Regions from separate parts of the Homo sapiens genome. Here region 1 is linked to region 2. Evidence: promoter capture Hi-C in 16 types of primary human blood cells and fetal thymus (Javierre and others, 2016). All regions are on one chromosome and are shown on one strand. Each heading gives the region's core, a stretch centred on a gene start or on the middle of the fragment in contact. The rest is flanking DNA. Distances are from core to core; before and after follow the strand shown. Region 1 overlaps ANXA6 (annexin A6). Region 2 holds the start of GPX3 (glutathione peroxidase 3).

The links. The method cuts DNA at HindIII sites, captures the fragments that hold promoters and counts their contacts. A CHiCAGO score of 5 or more calls a contact.
Region 1: a contact is called between a fragment that was not itself captured here and the fragment with the promoter of GPX3 in region 2, in 5 of 17 cell types (M1 macrophages, M2 macrophages, M0 macrophages and 2 more). The highest score is 8.1, in M1 macrophages.

The regions. Positions count from the first base shown.
Region 1 is chr5:151,120,185-151,126,334 of GRCh38, forward strand. It overlaps ANXA6 (annexin A6), which reads right to left. Exons shown (of 26, transcript NM_001155.5): 15 at 4,102-4,183; 16 at 2,733-2,827; 17 at 1,963-2,076. Among named protein-coding and RNA genes, the nearest start is that of ANXA6, 35 kb to the right of the region's middle. RefSeq lists enhancers at 3,661-4,161, 5,970-6,129. The HindIII fragment of the contact is 3,901 bases long and covers 2,186-6,086 here.
Region 2 is chr5:151,017,562-151,023,421 of GRCh38, forward strand. GPX3 (glutathione peroxidase 3) reads left to right here and starts at 3,030. Exons shown (of 5, transcript NM_002084.5): 1 at 3,030-3,180. The coding sequence starts at 3,094. RefSeq lists an enhancer at 4,475-5,674. The HindIII fragment of the contact is 15,890 bases long and covers 1-5,860 here.

The DNA of each region.
Region 1 (6,150 bases), core at 2,886-5,385, 100 kb after region 2:
GGAGTGATTTATGAACTGAGGCGTTACATGCCCTGGACTAAGGCAGGCTGGGGACCTGTCATGCAAAGATCTGCACACAGGGAAGCAGGGAAACTATCAGGGAGGAGAGGAGGCAGGCAAGATTGACTGATTGATTGACTGAATGAGTCAATGACTAATTCACTCATTCAGGTACTTGTTAAGACACCTATTATGTGCTAGCCACTGTGCAAGGTGCTGGGGCTACAACTACAAAAAAAAAAAAAAAAAAGTCCGGGCGTGGTGGCTCACACCTGTAATCCCAGCACTTTAGGAAGCTGAAGAGGGCAGATCACTTGAGGTCAGGAGTTCAAGACCACGCTGGCAAACATGGTGAAACCCCTTCTCTACTAGAAAGACAAAAAAATTAGCTGGTCGTGGTGGCGTGCGCCTGTAATCCCAGCTACTCAGGAGGCTGAGGCAGGAGAATCGCTTGAACCTGGGAGGTGGAGGTTGCAGTGAACCGAGATCACACCACTGCACTCCAGCCTGGGCGAAAGAGCGAGACTCCGTCTCAAAAAAAAAAAGAGAAAGGCAAGAGGCAAGACATGTTCTCTGTCCTCAAAGAGGTTACTGCCTAGTGCTCTAATGGTCCTGCCTTCTCAGATCCTAGGAGATTCATCCTGATTGAGATCTTCAATCATTTCTTTGTTAGAAGCAGGTGTGTGGTGAGGCAATCAAGAAAGTCCTGAGACTGGGTCTAGCCCTCGTCTCCCCCTAACTCACTGACTCTCTGAGCCTCTCTGTTTCCCACTTGGAAACTTTGAAAATGGAAAGGATTCAGTTGGGTTACCTCATCGATCTCTTCTATTTCTGAACCCTGTGTCTTTAGATCGTTTGCTTTTTGGCTTAGGTATTTTAAGAAACAATCATCTCAATCTGCTTAGCCTAGGCAATGTTTTTATAAAGTCCTCTAGCTCCCCATTGCTGCCCTCCTCTTAATGCGCAAGGGGCCAAAAGCACTACTGGTTTTATGCGGTTGTCAAGACAGGCTCTAGAGTCAGAAAGACTGGTCTGAACCTCAGCTTTGCTACTTCATAGCTCTATGACCATGACCAAGCAACTTAACCTCCAAGTCTCAGTTTCCTCATCTGTAAAATGGGGACAAAATAAGAGCCCTGCCTTGTGGCTTGAGGAGGCAACTAATTGAACTAATGTACCTAACCTGGGAGAGTTACCATATGCTCTTTATAAACAGTAGCCATTAGTACAATTGGTACCTTGGGAAGCAAAGCAGTTCTAGCAACTTCTGGGCCAGGACATAATGCTTTCTTGTTTAATGTAGGGTCAGGTCTTCGGAGTTAACAATGCCCTTCATACCTGTGACCTTGATTGACCTGTCCTAGTTTGAAGGGCAGAGGTGACCATTTCCATTTCCCAGATGAAGGCACAGAGGATTGGGAAGTGTAAGGAATGGCCCAGTCACACTGTGAGTGAGTGGCAGGTCTAGGCTGGAGTACAGACTCCAACTGCTGGTGCTTTCGTTCGAGACCCACCCCACTTCCTCCAGCGGCTCCATGAGACCCTTCTGACACCAGTGGGCATGTGACTTAAGCTGAATCAACTTGGAGTAAATGCCAAGCCTGTTGTTGGAGCTCCTAGGAAGAAGGAACTCTTTCTGCTGGAGCCGCTAGCTGGCGGGATGGACATATGCCACCATGAGGAGAAAGGCTGCCTGAGAGTGAAGCCAGAAGGGAGGACAGCAGAGCCAAGACAGGGGTGAGCCAAGGGTCCACAGAACATCATTTGAGTCTCTGGACTCAGAGCTAGTCCTGTAGTTTTCAGTTATAGGAGCCAACATCTCCTTTTGTGTTTATGCCAGTTTGAACTGAGTATGGGAGGAGTTCTACCAAGAAGTTACAGCTAATCCACCTGGGCTTATGAGGATCACCTGTATCCCTATTGGCACCCGCAGACACTAGACCCCCTGGTGCCACACTGTACCTCCATGGCCTTCTTCAACTGCTTGGCATCGTAATGGGCCGGTGGCATCATGAGCCCCAGAATCAGCCTTGCCAGGTCTCCAGAGATCTCAGACTTCAGGTCAGTCATTAAGTCCTGCAAAGGGCAGAGCCACAGTCATGCCAACATCAGCACTTGCCCACACATGACTCAGGATGGGAGAGATGGAAAGAGAAAACAGGGGTTCCACATGAGGGATCATGGAAGCTTGTGTCTGTCTTTGCTGATGTTGTACTTATTATTTAGATGAAGCCAAAGAGGGTAGGGAAAAAACAACCAGGAGGAAGACCCACTCTCCTTGACACAGGAGACAGGAACGGGAAGGCAGCAGAGCTGAAGGACACTGTTTCCACTCAGGGGGAAATGCATCAACCTAAGCCAGATGCCACCAATGTGCAATAATCCCTGACACTCAGTTGGGGCCTTGAAGCCAGCTCTGTCTGTGCAGAGGAATTGCAAGATGCCCAAAGCACACTGAAAACAACTCATAGCCCTGATCTTGGCCCCATGCTGTGCCTCTGAGTCCACTGAGCAACTCACACAAGTGTTGCCCATCACAAGGAACTGGGGGCATGGAAAGATATGTCTGCCCAAACCCAGTGCTGGAGACACTCTGAGATCATATGACCACACAGGGTCCCTCTGCCATGAAGACCCTGGTGCCCAACTGTGCAGAACCGATGGGGACAGGCTGAGCTCAATCAGGCAAGGTGCATGCATGTTGCACAGAGAGCCCAGGAGGAGGTCCTTACCCGGCCAAAGTGAGACTTGAAGGTCTGCCGGATCTGCTGCCGCTGGACATTGCTGCGGTGCGTGATGATATCGATGATTGTGTCTTCGTCAGTCCCTGAGTCACCAAAGCCACATGCCTCAGAAGAAGGCCTGTGGCTCTCGGCTTTCCCCATGCACCGCCCACTGATGGCCCCTCATCGATCTTTGTCAGGGTAGAAGCCTGGCTAAGCGGCCATGTGCTCCTGAGTCCCTGCAGTCCGCTTGCCTATGGCTCAGGCCACTGATTTCTGCTGGACTCCTCCCTCCCTTTCCTTTTGACACGCTGAGGAAAAAGGACAGCTGGGAGGTAGAGAGCACTGGGTTGGGAGTCAGTGCCTCTGAGTTCTAGTTCTGGCTCTGGCAATGGCTGCCCACCCTGGGCAAGTCCCCTTCCCTTGATGGGACTTGGTTTCCACATCTGTAACATGAAGAGGCTGGAGTAGTCACCAAGGGATCCTTCCAACCCTGACAGTCCAAGTCCTGTTAGCAACTCTATGTCCTTTCTCTTCAGCTCTCTGGAAGCTGGACCCTGAGTCCCTCTAACCACAGCAGGTTGACTCTGGAAGGCATTAGAATATCACTTCCTGCTTCTCAGATTAATGCCATCAACCACAGACCCAGCACAGGGGTCTTTCATGGCATTTTTACCTCTAGCATCCTACAGTCCCAGGCGAGCTTGGCAGGTATCATCATTCCCATGAGACACATGGAAAGGAGGCTCAGGAGGGTGATGGACTTAACCTAAAGCCTCCTGGGAGTTGCTGTCAGACAGATGGGGCAGAAAGGCAAAGAAAGCCAAACCCTAGATGGCCTGTCCCAGGCTGGACTTTCTGAGCACAGGCCCAGCTGATCTGAACCTGTGGGTGCAGTACTCTTCCCACTGGTGCCAAATATAGGTCTGAAAGACCTGCCCAGCAGGGCACACTCCCACCACAGAATGAGGGAGGGCTCTTGGGTTCCAGGGTCCACAGCCCTGATTTTACACATAGGGAAATTCAGACCCAGAGTGGCGGAGAGGCTCACCCAGAGTCACACGGTGAGTCAGCAGCAGAGCCAGGGCACCATGCCAATTTTGTGACCTGGTACTTTCTTCAGTGCCAGGATACTGCTTCCAGGAGGCTGGGGGACACCTTGGTCCCTGGAAAGGGCTTCTGCCAAGTTCCTTATGAACCCTCTCCTGCCCCTCCTCTCTATACTCTGGGAGCTAGGAGGGTGGAAACTTGAGATCAAGCCTTCCTCATCCTGCAGACTCTAATTTGAAACCTCACTCCATCCCCTGCCAGCCCACGGCCAAACCCACCACACCTGCTGCCCTGGAGACCAACCCTGCTCCCTTCCCATCCCCCATACCGAGTCCCTTCATGGCTTTCCGCAGCGCTTTGGCATCTGCGTCAGGGTTGAAGTCATTGGCTGGGCGCACAGTTCCCTTCAGCTGTGAGAAGCAGAAAGAGACTCAGCAGGTGTCTGAAGGCCCCCCTGGGGACCAGGCTGAAAGACAGCATGCGAGGGTGGGAAGCTCACCCCATGAGCCCAAACCAAGCGGCGTGGGTGGGGAAAGAGGCAGAGGTGAAGCCACAGCAGACAGACCCTGCACGAGAGCTGAGAGAGAGAGAGAGAGAGAGAGAGAAAGAGACAGAAAGATATAGAGAGAGGGAGAGAGGGACTCAGGGCTGGGAGCAGGGCAAGTCCTGATCAAGAGAAATTGGCTAGGCTCCCGCCTGCCACGGGATCTGCCTCGGTTCTAGTGCCCCTTGGCTGCTTATTCCACCGGGGCATCCCCAATTCTTCTGAATCCTACCCTGCCCCCGAGGCCCCCTCTGCCTCTTAAAGAGTCATTCCCCCTGAAAAGGCAGCAGAAAAGTTCTGAAATACCAGAACAGAGTTTCCCAAATTTCAGTCACTCCTAAAGGACTTTCACTATTCCAAATTAGCACACACACTATGCCATCTCTTAATGGTTTTATGTAATTCAACTTCTTTTCTGTCTACTTAAATGCATCAATTTTTGAAGTGCATTTAAAATTACTCCCAAAAGGCAAGGAATTGTATCCGTTTTATCCTGTTACATATCCCAGGTGCCTACAACAGTGTCTGACATAATAGGCACACTCAAAAAATAATTGTTAAGTGGATTAATGAGGCTTGGCACAATGGCTCATGCCTGTAATCTCAGCACTTTGGGAGGCCAAGGCAGGAGGATCGCTTGAGCCCATTGGTTCAAGATGAGCCCAGGCAACATGGTGAAACCCTGTCTCTACACAAATTAGCCAGGTGTGGTGGTGTCCACCTGAGGTCCCAGCTACTTGGGAAGCTAAGTGGAAGGATCACCTGAGCCTGGGGAGGTGGCAGTGAGCCATGATCATGCCACTGTACTCCAGCCTGGATAACAGAGTGAGACCCTGTCTCAAAAAAAAAAAAAAAAAAAGGAATGGATGAAATTAATTTTATATAACTACCATGAATTAGGAAGTTGATACCATGTATCATAAACTGACAATTTACCACAAAAATCAACATAATAAAAACAAAAGAGGTGATATACCATGAAATTTAACATGATGCCTCTACTTGCCAGAAGCTCTGAAACTTAAAGCGAGCTCTCTCAGCTTTCTCTTTGTGAAAAAGGAAAATCAGCAAGTGTTGCAGAGACGGCGGCACCAAACCAAGACTTCCTCTTTGACGTAATCAGAAACGCTGATGAAATTGGAAAGGAGTGCCTTTCTCATTCACTCTGTGGAGTTCAGCGTTATTCAACCCTGCCAAACTAAATTCACTTCTCACATCACCTACAATCATCTGCAAAGATCTCTTGCCTTATCATTTGGGGAACACTGTCCTAGAACATCAGAGCTCAAGAGCCCTAAGAGATCACCGAGATTGCCATGTTAACCCCTCACTTTAAAGATGGAGACATAGAGGCCCAGAGGGAGGGGGCACCTTCCAAAGGTTACATAGCGAATAAGTAACAGAGAGCTCCAAGGTCCCATGCTTTTTTGTGTGGACCAAGTGTTGCAGTCTCTGGAATGGTTTGCCTAAAGTACTTTAGTGAAACCTTTCATTCCTGTCCTTTGTGGACCCCCAGTCTGAGGATGCTCAGGAGGACAACCTGAAATCCTCCAGTGCACCCAGGGATGCCCATCTGTTCTCAGCTTTCATGTCTCTGAGGCCAACTGTTTCGACTCCAGACGGGACAGGCCCCTCCATGGAACCAGCCAGGTCTCCATTTCAGCAAGCCCTGTTAGTAAGTGGGCCAGAACCCTTTCCAGCGTGTCAGAAGCTAATGCAGAAACCAGGTGCGCCCCTCCACCAGTTCACCACTCCAAGGGAGAAAAGGAAGCTTCAGATGTGAGAATCAACGTGTCGGGTTGGCCGCCAGGGGGCAGCTGGGTGCCAACCAGA
Region 2 (5,860 bases), core at 1,780-4,279:
TCAAGCAACTACTATGTATTAAGCTCTGTGCTGGTGCTGGTGCCTTTTTGGATCTTATAATTTAGTGCAGAAAATAGACAAACAAGAAATGATGATAAAGTACAACAAAGGGTCGATGTACAAAGTGTCAAATACTCTAGGAACTACAGGAAAACAAGGGAACCATCACGAAACCCCTGTCTTAAGACGTGACATTAGTGGAGATATGAAAAATGAGTAGGATAGTACCAGTTAAAGGGAGACAACCTCTGTTCCAAGCACAGGGAACAGCAGAGATGAAACCTGGAAGTGAGGGAGAATGGCAGACTGCAAGAACGGAAAAATGTCCAGTGTAGCGGAGGCAGAGAGAATATGGAGAGTGTGGCAAAAGAGGAAGAAGCAGATGGATTTTGAGGGCACTTTCTGAAGTGCTAAGGAATTTAGACTTTAACCTGAGGGCAATCAGAAGCAGCCTGGTGGAGAACGATATATTTCAAAACATAGGGTCCTTGAAAACAAGTCAACCAAATGTATTTAAAAGGCTGCTGATGAAAAGATTGGGAAGTATTGTTTTCATTCTCATTGTTTTCACTGTCATGCTCTTTGTGCCAATGGTTAGACCTCCTTTGAAAGCTCACTGCAGCATGAAAGCCCTTCTTAATGCCAGGGCAGGCTCCCCAAGCCTCCCCACCCCACTGTCCATGTCATCAGTTTTGTACTCCTGTTTTGTATGGCTCAGGCTTTCCTTATACTCTTAGGAATGAAAAGCCACAGACACCACCACTGAGAGACTGTCAAAGATCCTTGTTAAATAGGTGGACAACTGAGATCAGAGAAGGAAAGTAATTTTATTACTTTCCGTAGCAATCCAGGGGTAGCATCTCAGGTCTCTGGCTCCTTCTTGTCTCCCCTAAAGAAATAGACCACCAGGGCTGGGATTAAGGTGAGACAAGTGAGACATAGAGGGTGCAAAATGTAGAGAGATGCCCGCTGCCAGGTGCCAGCCTGCACTTGTGTGACCCTAGGTGCCTTCCCTTCCCTCACCCTGCTGGTATCTGCTGGAAACACCTTTGAGAGCAGGGACTTTGGCTTTTAGACAACTCTTTAGCATCTCTCATGGTGTTAACATGTTGCTAGGTGCCTATTTTGAGGGTCACTAGATGCCTACTGATACTAATGAACAATGGATTTCTGACAAACTGATGTGCACACAGATGTTTATATTTTAGGGTAAATACGAACCTTAAAAGACAACAGAACAACATGGAGAGGGCCTGAGACTGAGTCTAGAGACCTGGATTCTGGTTCCCTCCCTGCCATCAGTTGGTTATGGGAACTTGGATAAATTGCTCCTCATCTCTAGGCTTCAGGGAAATGAGGTGGTTGAATAAAACGTATTGAGCACTTACTGTGTGTCAGCCATTGTTCATATGCTCCCAGGCTTTAACTCAGCTAAAGACTTCCTGGCCTCTGTGGTTCCTTCCACTTCAACAGGCTGTGGTTTGAGGTGGGAAGACTTCGTAGAGAATGCAAAACTTGAGAGACATCTTCCAAATTCCCAGGGGGATGTTAATACCTTTAATCATAGTAAAGGTATGGTTTCTCAAGGCATTTCTTGGTCAGAAGAAAGTTCCAGAAGGCACTTAATCCTAGGACTCACACTACCAAGGCTACAGCCAGGCCAACTGCCTCACAATAACCTTAGAACATGTCTGAAGACAGATTTTCAGCTTCTGCCCCTAGAGATTCTAATGCAGTGATTCCAAAGTGGGGTCCAGGAATCTGTATTAAAGGCTTCCCAGTTGACTCTGGTGGTCAGAGAGATTTGAGACTGATTCCATCACATTCCCCATCTGTGAACGGGATCATACCTAGACAGCCCAGCCCTAGAACTGCCTGGTCTGATCCTAAGTGTTCCATGGAGATTTTGTTTTTTTAATGTAATGAATGATTAAGTCAGCAAATACTTTACATCTCTTGTGTGCTAGGCCCTGTGCCAGGTGGTGATTATGGGCCCTATTCTCAAAGGACTCCTGGTCTCCGTCTGTCACTTACTTTAGAAACAAGTCATCTAGCCAGAGCCAGAAGGGCACTGGAGATCACTAATCAATCCCATCATTACATAGCTGAGGAAACTGAGGCCCAGAGAGTAACTGCAACATGTTAAAGACTACACAGGGAGCAAATTTATTTTCTGCTTCTAAGCCAGGTGGTTTGGCCACAGATAGGCCAAGAAGAATACGAACAGACAAGCCTTGCTGGGTTTCCCACTCAGTTTATTACTATTAGACCATTCCCTTTTTCCCCACTCACATTTCTGCGCATTTCCATGGTCTTCATAGAATCTAAGCCTAAAAATAGAGTTTTCCTTGAGTCTTTGGGTCTTCATTTCTGAAGACTCTCATGTCACAGAAAACTTTAATTAAATAAATCGTTATGCTTTTCTCTTGCTAACCTTTTTCTACAGGCATGTCAGCTGTGATCCTTATGATGGGGAGGAAAGGCACCCCACCTTCTCTGTCCCTACAGTCCTAATGCCCTACCCAGAATGGGGTTTTCAAAATCCCAGGACACCCACTCTTTGTTTCTTAAGCACTAAACCTATATATAGTAAATGTTTCTGGAAGTTTAACTTCAGCTCTTGCTGAAATTTTAAACCCTCAATTTCCAGAGGACCATCGCCAGGTGTTTTTAAAACCTCGATAGGAATAAGAAATGCTTCCCAGAATGGAGACTTCCATCAGTTCTAGGGAGCTATTAGCCCCCTTGCCCTGGCTGTAATGGAGACCGCTGTGTCTGCCTCCTTTCGCACTTTGGAGCCAAAAGAGGAAGGGACCGCCTCCCACGTCCACAGGGACCTGACTTCCACCTCTCTGCCCAGATTTGCTTATGTCACTGTCGCCCCGGGACGGGGAGGTGGGGAGCTGAGGGCAAGTCGCGCCCGCCCCTGAAATCCCAGCCGCCTAGCGATTGGCTGCAAGGGTCTCGGCTTGGCCGCGGATTGGTCACACCCGAGGGCTTGAAAGGTGGCTGGGAGCGCCGGACACCTCAGACGGACGGTGGCCAGGGATCAGGCAGCGGCTCAGGCGACCCTGAGTGTGCCCCCACCCCGCCATGGCCCGGCTGCTGCAGGCGTCCTGCCTGCTTTCCCTGCTCCTGGCCGGCTTCGTCTCGCAGAGCCGGGGACAAGAGAAGTCGAAGGTGAGTGAGCCTCCGGGCCGGGGGCCGGGAGAAAAAACCTAGCCCCTCGGTGTCCAGCGCTCAGTGCAATGCACCCCTTTTCCCAGGCTCCCCGCCAGATGGGCAATCCCCAGGTGCGAGAGACCTCCTGAACCCCTTTTGCCGCCCCCTCCGCCGCCGGGACCCCGCCCCCGACCGTCGTCGTCTCGTAGTTCCATCTGTTGGAGAGCCGAGACCTGGTGCTTCAGGCGGGCAGAATGACTAAGGGAGGAAGGTCTCTCTCCCCGAGCTCGCACTTTCTCCCCACTGCCACCTCGAGGGTCGCCTTGCTACATCTATGTCACCTCCGTGCCTGAGCTGCTCCCCTTCAGTAGGGCCTAAGAGGGAGGGCGTCACAGAAAAAAATGCCCAGCGTCTGGGTGGGCTGTGCAAGTTCCCAGGGAGAGAGACAAGGAGAAAGGAGAGAGGCAGCTGGGTGGTCCTGGTCCTGAAGAACTGCTGTGGGGGGCTCTTCTACCCCAAGAATGATACAGGCAGGTAGAAATGGCCACTTGGATTCAGGGCATTGGTAGAAGAGGCAGAGATCTGTGCTAGAAAGAGCTCTGGAGTGACAGTGCAGAACACTCAGGACCCTGAGTCCTTACCTGCTCCTGGACCCCCGTTTCTCCATCTGCAGGGGAGAGTTTGGGGGTGGGAGTGCATGGGGCACAATGAAGCTGAGGGCCTCAGAGGGGATGCTTGGAGAAGCTGAAAAATCCACAAGCTGTTCTCTGAAATTTCCTCCCCTGGGGCAGCCTCACTACCCAGGACCCACTGTCCTCATTAGCCTGAGGAAACCTGGTAGTTGGAGAAAGCTGGGGACTGCTAATTCAGAAGAAGAGGTAGAATTCTCTAGAGCCTCAGTCTATTTCCAGCAGGTGTGTGGCCCACACCTGGAGTGGGGATACTGAGGCCAGGAGTGGGATGACCCAGCATGCTTATCTCCTTTGACAGTATGTACTGGGGTGGGCTCTGTAGACCTCTCCTCTACCCAGGGAGTGGGAGTGGGTGGGGAAGGAGGCAGAAGCCAGGTGTAGGGATAGACTCAAAGCGAGCGATTTCTGTCTCCAACTTCCCAACATGCATAACTCACATTTTTGCAAGCTCTGAGCTTTTGTTTCTAAAATCCTCTGGGTCTTCACTTTAATTAAGTTCTTATGAGTCTAGGATTCCGTTTCCAAAATTCTGTCCACTTCTCAGGAAGCCCATTGGAAGCACAGGGTTCCTTCCATGTTACTCACCCCTTTTCGGTCCTCAGCCTAAATCCGATTAATCAGCCTCTCCTTGGAGTCAGTCTAAATGGATGTGAAGCCACTTCGTCCAAGTCCCCTCCTTTTTATCCATCCCTGTTCATAATCCCCAACTCAGAAGGCATTTTCCAGGTCAGGAATGGGATCGATTTTCAACATTGAGGTTTGGGGTGGGCCATAGACAGGCCAGCACCGTGGAGTCAGTCCCAACCTTCAGTTTTGGAAAGGTCAAAGAAGATACAATTGGGCCCTGCCTCAAGAAGGCTAGTGGGGAGAACGTGGACTCCATGAATAACTCATCATAGCTGTGTCTTCTCTGCAGCACTCTGGGGAAGGATAAATGGACTCAGAGAGAATAGGATGGGGATGGTCTAGAAAAGTTTTAGGGTGAGGTGTGATCATATCACATACAACCAGTCAGGACTTGCTGGCTAATGAAAGCCTGGGCATGCCCATCTCTGCTCCCAAGTTCTTAGAGTTCAGATGTCTTAGCTCTGGGTTAGGACCCAACCACTCACCTTACCCCCAACCCCAGGGTAAAGAGATAGGGTTATGGGGCATGTGGAGAATGGAATGGACGAAAGGTGACTCAGCCCCAGAGAGGTGTTTTCCTCCTACCAATTGAAAGGGAGATGCTAGGGAAGAGACCAGGTCCTCCTCTTCTTGCTGCGTCACCTCCCCAGTCCAACTTCAGGCTGCCCACGCTCCTTGTCTCTACAAAAGGACTGCAGAAGCCGGAAAGAGTGACAACTGCTGACGTGCACGGGATCCTAGTAACTGCTGGTTTCTAGGTGACTAAACCTGGCAGAGAGAATCATGGAACCACAGGCTGACAGAGTTAAAGGGCCCTTAAGACAGCCCTGAACCTGACTCCATCTTACAATGGAGGAGCTGGAGCCCCAGCAAAGGGGGTCACATGGCATCAGAGACACAGCAAAGCCCAGCACTCAGGTCTCCTGACTCCCAGACCACTTCTCACAGCATCATATTGATAGGAGTAATAAGACGGGAGAGGAGAAAGACACAAGACCAGCAGCCCCAGCCAGCCAGAGTCCTGGCTGAGTCCCATCATCCAACTCTCAAGCCATTGGAACCCTCTTCTCTTGCCCGGCTGTGGGAGGATTCAGGCACCCTCATGGCCTCTCCCCTTATCTCCTCTGGCCACTGTTTCAGATGCGGTGCTCTGGGATTCCACGTGCCCAGAGAAGGGAAGGGGGCTCATAGAGGACTGAGTTGCAGTGATCAGTGGTGAGCACAGCCGTGGCTCTCCACCCATGGGCCACCTTCTGACCCCCACTATCCCTTGACATGAGATTTCGTTCCAAGAGACTCCAGGCCTGTTTTGCTCTGCCAGCAGATTCCCACAACCATTTTGGGCAGCAGCATGCTTATCTCCCTGGACATATGCCCAG